Linked DNA regions of Homo sapiens: region 2 is linked to region 1. The links are contacts of gene promoters, found by promoter capture Hi-C in blood cells and fetal thymus (Javierre and others, 2016). All regions are on one chromosome and are shown on one strand. Each heading gives the region's core, a stretch centred on a gene start or on the middle of the fragment in contact. The rest is flanking DNA. Distances are from core to core; before and after follow the strand shown. Region 1 holds the start of OR6K6 (olfactory receptor family 6 subfamily K member 6). Region 2 has its middle 18 kb from the start of PYDC5.

Region 1 (4,148 bases), core at 1,593-4,092:
CTTACCAGGGACCTGCCCCCTTCTGCCCAGGAATCTGTCTGCTTCTGTTGCCATTCATGGCCCCCAGGCTGTAGGTGTGAAGGGGGGCCTGCATGCCAGCTCTGAGATGCCCTCTGTGCCCCCTGGGCTTCCCTCCTATGCTTCTTGGTGCCCAAAGTCTGGAGAGGGAGAAGGCATCAAGGGGCTGGTGTATCAGCACTGCTTGTAGCATGTGCATACCTGGACAGACTACAATAGGACTGGGTCTCAGCCCTTACTTTGCTCCTAGATTGGAGTGGACATTGACAGCAGGGAGAAGCCAGGCAGCAGGAGCAGGCACTTTCAAACCTGCAAGAGAAGGGGGACCTTCCCAGGACCCCAGGAGCGCAGAGGTGCCTGGGTCCGCAGCCGTGGTTTGGGTGGCTACACTTGCATGGAGGAGTGGGAGGCCATGATCCACAGTCATGACTTGGGTGGCTGTAGCCCGAACCTCCTGGGTGGGGCTTCTGCCAGTTCCATGGAGCAGGTGGCCCAGATCTACAGCCTGGGTTTGGGTGGCTGCAGCTGCGCCTGGAGGATGGGGCTCTCACCTTCTCCTTGGCCCCAAGAGCACAAGGATGCCTGGGTCTGCAACAGTGGCTTGCAGCGACACCCTGGGGTGCTCCCACCCCAACTCGGAAGGCGCAGGGCTCCCCCTTGTCCCTGGTTCCTGCCCTGGCCACACTGCTACCGTCAATACTGGCAATATATTCCTAAGTCAGGGAATATATACTTGAGACTAATCAGTAGAGATATAATTGAAAGGTAATGCTAGTGTTTAACTAGATTTGAATTCAGAGGATTAAGGTTCAGTTTCTTCCATGCCTTGTATTGCCTGTGTGTACTGGAGAAAGCTTTTGGCTTCTCTGAGCCTCCACATCTGCAAAATGCGAATCACTGTAGTCTTGCTTACCTTATACAAAGAGGTTTTTTTAATATGATGAAAAACAAATCACATAAATCTTAACCATGTTAACTATTTTTTTCAGCATACAAATAAGTTTCTTAAAGGATCAAATAAGACTTGCATTTAAAAACTTCTAAAAATATGATGATGTTGATTATATCAACAGAGGGAATAGAAATCATAGTGAAAATGAATAAAAGTGGAGAGGAAAGAGTGTTTACTGATTGAGTATTCCAGAGAATCATGATCCTGGATGAAGTTTATTCTGACTGCCACAGCTGTGCCCCAGTGCCCAGCTTTATACTCTATTCCTCTATGAGAGATAAGGTTTTATAGCCCCAGGACAACTTTTGAAACCTGACCCTGGGGAATGTCTAATTACTATGTAGCATTGTTCTTCTAATTTGTCCCTTAGAGGGGAGAGAAAGATACATAATTTTCCTTTAGACATTGCATCATCCAAAGAGAAACTCCCAGGAAAGACCATCTTTCCATTCTAGTTATTCCTGGAAGAGGCTTCAGAGACATTTGTACCCTTATTGACAGGCTAGGAGAAGAGGTGGCTGCAGAGATTTTGAGGAGCATTCTCATGGTGTCAGGCAGGGTAAGTACTAAAGACTGCATTGAAAGGGCATCATCCAACCTCCTTTTACTTCTACTTTGCCGCCCAATAGCTTCCTTACATCCTCAACTCTTCAGAACCCAACTGTTGCCCTGCTGTTTCACGGCAAACTGTCATATTTTAAGAACTTTGTTACATGAGTGAAATATTATACTAAGGGTAAATGAAATCGGGAAGGGATAACAGAAAGAATATGGTTCAGCTAACAGTTTGAAGATACTGATAATGTCTAAGGTCTTTTAAACATTAAATCTTGTTGAAACCCTAATAATTGTGGATTCTTGAAGAGTCACAGAGAAAGTTACTGCTTTTCTTCAAAGTCAAGTCTAATCTAATTCAAGTGTCTTTACGTCATACAAGAAATATTTTTAGATTGAACTCCTTGGACACTACTAAATATCTTTAACAGTAGGATTTTATTGATGGTTCTTTATGTATTTCAGGAACAAGAATAATATTTATTTACCTTTATATAGCCCTTGAACCTATGGCATCATCGACACATAGCAGAAGATCAATCGATATATGAGTGTTAGTTGAATAAATGTACCGATGATGAATAATGATGCAGCTTTACTACTGAGAAGGGCCCCGTGCGTACAGCAACAAAGTAGTCACTCTGTCTGGCTTTTATTAGCCACTTAGCACCTATTTTCTTGTATTTTGTTATAGCCCTGTGTTTCCTTCTCTGTCCTTCCATATTCTCTATAATGACTACTCAGCACGATTATTCAATTGCTTAGAAAAGAAAAACACAGGAAGGACAGAGAAGTGGATATTTTAGTCAGAAGAAAACTCCAATATCTTACACTTTTCCCCTTGGAAGCTCTGCCTTTCTGTGGCGCACTGTTGCTTGTTTCCTTCCAAAGCCTGCCTCTCCTATCTACCTTCCTCACAGTTTAAGGTGCAAGGCAGAGGCATCCTTTAAAAATTAATTTTCCTAGTCTGACAGGAGAATTTCTTGAACCCGGGAGGCGGAGGTTGTGGTGAGGCAAGATTGAGTCATTGCACTCCAGCCTGGGCAATAAGAGCAAGGCTCCATCTCAAAAAATAATAATAATAATTAATTTTCCTAGTCTGAAATGCATTTATTTGTATCTGCTTTTGACCTATTGAAGAAACCATGTCAGCTTTCTCACCTCACACCCGGGACAGACAGACGTTAAAAAATGACCAAACCTACAGAAAATATTTCCAGATAATGAAATTTGAGTATTGCTTTGCTTTTTGCACATCAGTTGAAGATGTTTACTAGAAAAAAAAAAGGTCATTCAGGGGTCCAACAGCAAGTATTTCAGATGATTTTGGCATGGAGGTAAAGCTTAAGAGATATTTCTAACTGGTTTCTTCAGGATTCCAGAATCAGCTTGAGTAACTCATTACAGAAAGGAATGAAGCAATATTCAGTGGGTAATCAACATTCCAATTATAGGAGTCTCTTGTTTCCTTTTCTGTGTTCACAGATGACACAGTTGACGGCCAGTGGGAATCAGACAATGGTGACTGAGTTCCTCTTCTCTATGTTCCCGCATGCGCACAGAGGTGGCCTCTTATTCTTTATTCCCTTGCTTCTCATCTACGGATTTATCCTAACTGGAAACCTAATAATGTTCATTGTCATCCAGGTGGGCATGGCCCTGCACACCCCTTTGTATTTCTTTATCAGTGTCCTCTCCTTCCTGGAGATCTGCTATACCACAACCACCATCCCCAAGATGCTGTCCTGCCTAATCAGTGAGCAGAAGAGCATTTCCGTGGCTGGCTGCCTCCTGCAGATGTACTTTTTCCACTCACTTGGTATCACAGAAAGCTGTGTCCTGACAGCAATGGCCATTGACAGGTACATAGCTATCTGCAATCCACTCCGTTACCCAACCATCATGATTCCCAAACTTTGTATCCAGCTGACAGTTGGATCCTGCTTTTGTGGCTTCCTCCTTGTGCTTCCTGAGATTGCATGGATTTCCACCTTGCCTTTCTGTGGCTCCAACCAGATCCACCAGATATTCTGTGATTTCACACCTGTGCTGAGCTTGGCCTGCACAGATACATTCCTAGTGGTCATTGTGGATGCCATCCATGCAGCGGAAATTGTAGCCTCCTTCCTGGTCATTGCTCTATCCTACATCCGGATTATTATAGTGATTCTGGGAATGCACTCAGCTGAAGGTCATCACAAGGCCTTTTCCACCTGTGCTGCTCACCTTGCTGTGTTCTTGCTATTTTTTGGCAGTGTGGCTGTCATGTATTTGAGATTCTCAGCCACCTACTCAGTGTTTTGGGACACAGCAATTGCTGTCACTTTTGTTATCCTTGCTCCCTTTTTCAACCCCATCATCTATAGCCTGAAAAACAAGGACATGAAAGAGGCTATTGGAAGGCTTTTCCACTATCAGAAGAGGGCTGGTTGGGCTGGGAAATAGATACAGATCCTGGAGACTCTAAAAAGCCTCTTGGAAGAGCAAAATTTCACTGTTATTTATCTTTTCCATGTCTATCCTCTTTCTGTATTGCTGCAACTACTTGTTCTATTATTTTTAAAAAGAATGATAAACTGCTGTATACAGGCTGTGGATGGTAAGTGGATGGCCAGTTTACATC
Region 2 (4,420 bases), core at 844-3,343, 230 kb after region 1:
ATATAACCAGCCAGTTATCCTGACACTGCTTGTTGAATAGGAAGTACTGTTTCCATTACTTGTTATTGTCAACTTTGTTGAAGATCCAATGGTTGTAGGTGTGCAGCTTTATTTCTGGGTTCTCTAACCTGTTCCATTGGTCTATGTATCTGTTTTGTTCTAGCACCATGCTACTTTGGTGACTGTAACTTTGTAGTATAGTTTGAATTTGGATAGTGTGATGCCTCCAGCTTTGTGGTTTCTGCATAGGATTATTTTGGTTATTTGGGATCTTTTTTGGGTTCCATATAAATTTTAGAATAGTTTTTCTAATTCTGTGAAAAATGACATTGGTAGTTTGATCAGAATAACATTGAATCTGTAAATTGCTCTGGAGAATATAGCCATTTTAACAATATTGATTCTTCCTATCCATGAGAATGAAATGTCTTTCCATTTGTTTGTATCATCTCTAATTTCTTTTAGCAGCATTTTGTAACTCTTGTTGTAGAAATCTTTTACCTCCCAGGTTAGCTGTATTCCTATGTGTTTATTCTTTGTGTGGCTATTGTGAAAGGAACTATGTTCTTGGTTTGGCTTTCAGCTTGGGTATTATTAGTTGTATAGAAATGCTACTAATTTTTGTACATTGATTTTGTATCCTGAGACTTTGCTGAAGTTGTTTATAATTTCTGGGAAATTTGGGGCAAAGGCTATGGGGTTTTCTGGGTATAGAATCATATTACCTGCAAAAGGAGGTAGTTTGACTTCCTTTCTTTCTATTTGGACGTCTTTTATTTTTTTTTCTCTTGCCTGACTGCTCTGGCTAGAACTTCCAGTGCTATGTTGAACCAGGAGTAGTGAGAGTAGGCAACTTTGTCTTGTTCTGGTTCTCAAGAGGTATGATTTCAGCTTTTGCCTATTTGTGATATGATGTTGGCTGTGGTTTTGTCATAGATGTCTCATTTTGAGGTATGTTCCTTTGATACCTAGTTTGTTGAGGGTTTTTAACATGAAAGAATGTTGAATTTATTGAAACCTTTTCTGCATCTATTTAGATAATCACGTGATTTTTGTTTTTAGTTCTGTTTATGTGATAAATCACATTTACCAATTTGCGTATGTTGAACCAACTTTGCATTCCAGGGGTAAAGCTTACTTGATCATGGTGGCTTAGCTTTTGCTGTGCTGCTGGATTTAGTTTGCTAGTATTTTTTTTTGAGGACTTTTGCATCAATATTTATCAGGCATATTGTCCTGAATTTGTTTTTCCTTTGTGTTTCTGTCAGGTTTTGGTATCAGAATAATGCTGACCTCATAGAATGATTCAGGGCAGAGTCTCCGCTCCTCAATATTTTGGAATAATTTTGGTAGGATTGGTATCAGCTCCTCCTTATCTATCAGGTAGAATTCAGATGTGAATCTGTCTGATCCATGGCTTTTGTTGGTTTGTAGGTATTTTATTATGGATTCAATTTCAGAACTTGTTATTGATCTGTTTAGGTATTCAATGTCTTCCTGGTTCAATCTTGGCAGGTTGTATGTTTTCAGGAATTTATCTGTTTCTTCTAGATTTTCTAGTTTTTCAGCATAGAAATTGTTCATAATGGTCTTTGAGAGTTTTTGTATTTCTGTGGGTTCCATGGTAATGTCCCCTTTGTCATTTCTAATTGTATTTATTTGGATCTTCTCCTGTTTTTTTTTTTTTTTTTGTATATTAATCTGGCTAGTGGTCTATATATCTTATTCTTTCAAAAAACCAATTTTTAGTTTTCTTAATTATTTTTGTGAATTTTCACATCTCAATTTTATTTGGTTCAACTTAGATTTTGATTATTATTTTTCTTCTGCTAGTTTGGGGGTTGGTTTCCTTTTGTTTTTTCTAGTTCCTGTAAATGTGATGTTAGGTATAAATTTAAGATATTTCTGACTTTTTGATGTAGGCCTTTAGTGCTATAAACTTTTCTCTTAACACTGCTTTAGCTGTGTCCCAGAGACTCTGATATATTGTATTTTTGTTTTCATTAGTTTCAAAGATTTCTTGATTTCTGCATTAATTTAATTTATTACCCAAAAGTCATTCAGGAGTAAGTTGTTTAATTTCCAAATACTTCTATGATTTTCAGAGATCTTCTTGGTATTGATTTGTATTTTTGTTGCACTGTGATCTGAGAGTGTGGTTGATATAATTTCTGTTTTTTGAATTTCCTGAGCATTGCTTTATGGCCAAGCATGTGGCCAAGCATGTGGCACAGAGTATGTGCCATGTGCAGATGAGAAGAATGTATATTCTGTTGTTGAGTGGAATGTTCCTTATATGTCTGTTAGGTCAATTTAGTCAAGTGTGAAATTTTGTTCCTGAATATCTTTGTTAGTTTTCTCCCTCAATGATTTATCTAACAATGTTAGTAGGGTGTTGTATTCTCCCACTATTATTGTGAGGTTAGCTAGTTCTCTTCATAGGTCTCTAAGAACTTGTTTTATGAATCTGGTTGTGCCAGTGCTGAATGCACACATCTTTAGGATAGTTAAGTCTTGTTTGTAGAATTGAACTTTTTATCATTATGTGATGCCCTTCTTCATCCTCTTTGATAGCTTTTGGTTTAAGGTCTGTTTTTTTTTTCCTGAAATAAAAGAGCAACCCCTGCTCTATTTTGTTTGTTTTCCATTTGCTTTATAGATATTCCTCCATCCATTTAATTTAAGCCTGTGTCTTTACATGTAAGGTGGGTCTCTTGAAGACAGCATGTAATTGAGTCTTGCTTCTTTATCCAACTTACCATTCTGTGCCTTTTAAGTGGAGTGGTTAGCCTGCTTATGTTCAAGGTTAATATTGATATGTAAGGATTTGATCCTGTCATAGTGTTATTAGCTGGTTGTTATGTAGACTTGATTGTATAGTTGCATATTGTGTCAGTGGAATATTTACTTAAGTGTGTTGTTTTGTGGCAGGTAGCAGCCTTTTGTTTCCATGTTCAGCACTCCCTGAAGGACCTCTTATAAGGCAGGCCTAATGGTAACAAATTCGCTTAGTGTTTGTTTGTCTGAAAAGGATTATGTTTCTTTTTCACTTACAAAGCTTGGTTCGGCTGGATATGAAATCATGGTTAGAATTTCTTTTGTTTAAGAATGCTGAATGTAGGCCTTTAATCTTTTCTGGCTTGAAAAATTTCTGCTGAAAGGTCCACTGTTAGTGTGATAAGGGTTCCCTTTGTACATGATCTGCCTCTTCTCTTTTGCTGCCTTTCATATGTTTTATTTACCTTGATCTTGGAGAATTGGATAACTATGTGTCTTAGGGATTGTCATCTTGTGTAATATCTTGCTGGGGTACTCTGAATTTCCTGAATTTACATGTCAACCTCTCTAGCAAGGTCAGGTAAATTTTCAGGGACAATATCTTCAAATATGTTCTCCAAGTTGCTTGGTCTCTCTCCCTCTCTTTCTGTGATGCAAATCAGTTGTAGGTTTGGTCTCTTTACATAAACTCATATTTCTTGAAGTTTCGTTCATATTTTATTATTTTTTCCTTTATTTTTATCTGACTGAGTTGATTTGAAGAACTGATCTTCAAGCTCTGAGATTTCTTTCCTCAGCTTTCCTCAGCTTCTGCTGTTAGTACTTCCAATTATATTATGAAATTTTTGTAGTGAGTTTTCAGCTCTAGTAGGTTAGTTTGGTTCTTTCTTAAAATGGCTATTTTATCTTTAAGCTTTTGTATTATTTTATTGGATTTCTTAGATTCCTTTGATTGGGTTTCTGCTTTCTCCTATATTTCAAGAATCTTCATTGCCATCTAGACTTTGCTGGGTAGGTAGCATGGTAGTTTGGAGGTAAGACACTCTGGTTTCTACAGTGCCAGAGTTCTTGCACTGGTTCTTTCCCATCTGTGTGGGCTAATATTTTGCTAGTCTTTGCAGTTGCTGTTCTTTGGATGGGGCTCTTTTATTTTATATTCTTTGATGTCCTTGAGTGTCTAGCTGTGCTATAAGTTGGGTTTAGTTGATCGGCTTTGTTTCTGGATAATTTCATGGGTCCAAGGATCAGCTCAGCACTGTTAGGCTGTGTGCTCTACCCCTAGGGGTCTGAAACTAGGCCAACACCTTTTTTTCTGACCACTTGAGGTAAAGGACCTGCTGCACTGAAGGGGCTGAGGTGTTCTCAGTCTACTGTCTAAACCATCTATGTGGGGACATGCTGGCAAAAATGCTTTGGTGGGACAGCAATTGTGGGTCAGTGCTGCCAAGGCCATGCTGAAAGTTGGTGCAGCGAGGCAGAAACTCTGAGAGAGGCCAGCAGATGGGGACACTCTGATCAAACCAGCCCCACCCTTTGAGCAGATAGTTCATTTCTATCCAGCCCTTGCAGCCAACAAAGGCTAAAGCCACCTAGAGGAGTATGGCAAGACTTAAGGGATGGGCGTCCATGTCCATGCTCCACT

What was found. The method cuts DNA at HindIII sites, captures the fragments that hold promoters and counts their contacts. A CHiCAGO score of 5 or more calls a contact.
Region 2: a contact is called between a fragment that was not itself captured here and the fragment with the promoter of OR6K6 in region 1, in 2 of 17 cell types (neutrophils and M2 macrophages). The highest score is 7.4, in neutrophils.

The regions. Positions count from the first base shown.
Region 1 is chr1:158,751,878-158,756,025 of GRCh38, forward strand. OR6K6 (olfactory receptor family 6 subfamily K member 6) reads left to right here and starts at 2,843. Exons shown (of 1, transcript NM_001005184.2): 1 at 2,843-4,014. The coding sequence starts at 3,011. The coding sequence ends at 3,970. The HindIII fragment of the contact is 1,996 bases long and covers 871-2,866 here.
Region 2 is chr1:158,982,355-158,986,774 of GRCh38, forward strand. It overlaps a transcript of PYHIN1 not described here. Among named protein-coding and RNA genes, the nearest start is that of PYDC5, 18 kb to the right of the region's middle. The HindIII fragment of the contact is 1,925 bases long and covers 1,132-3,056 here.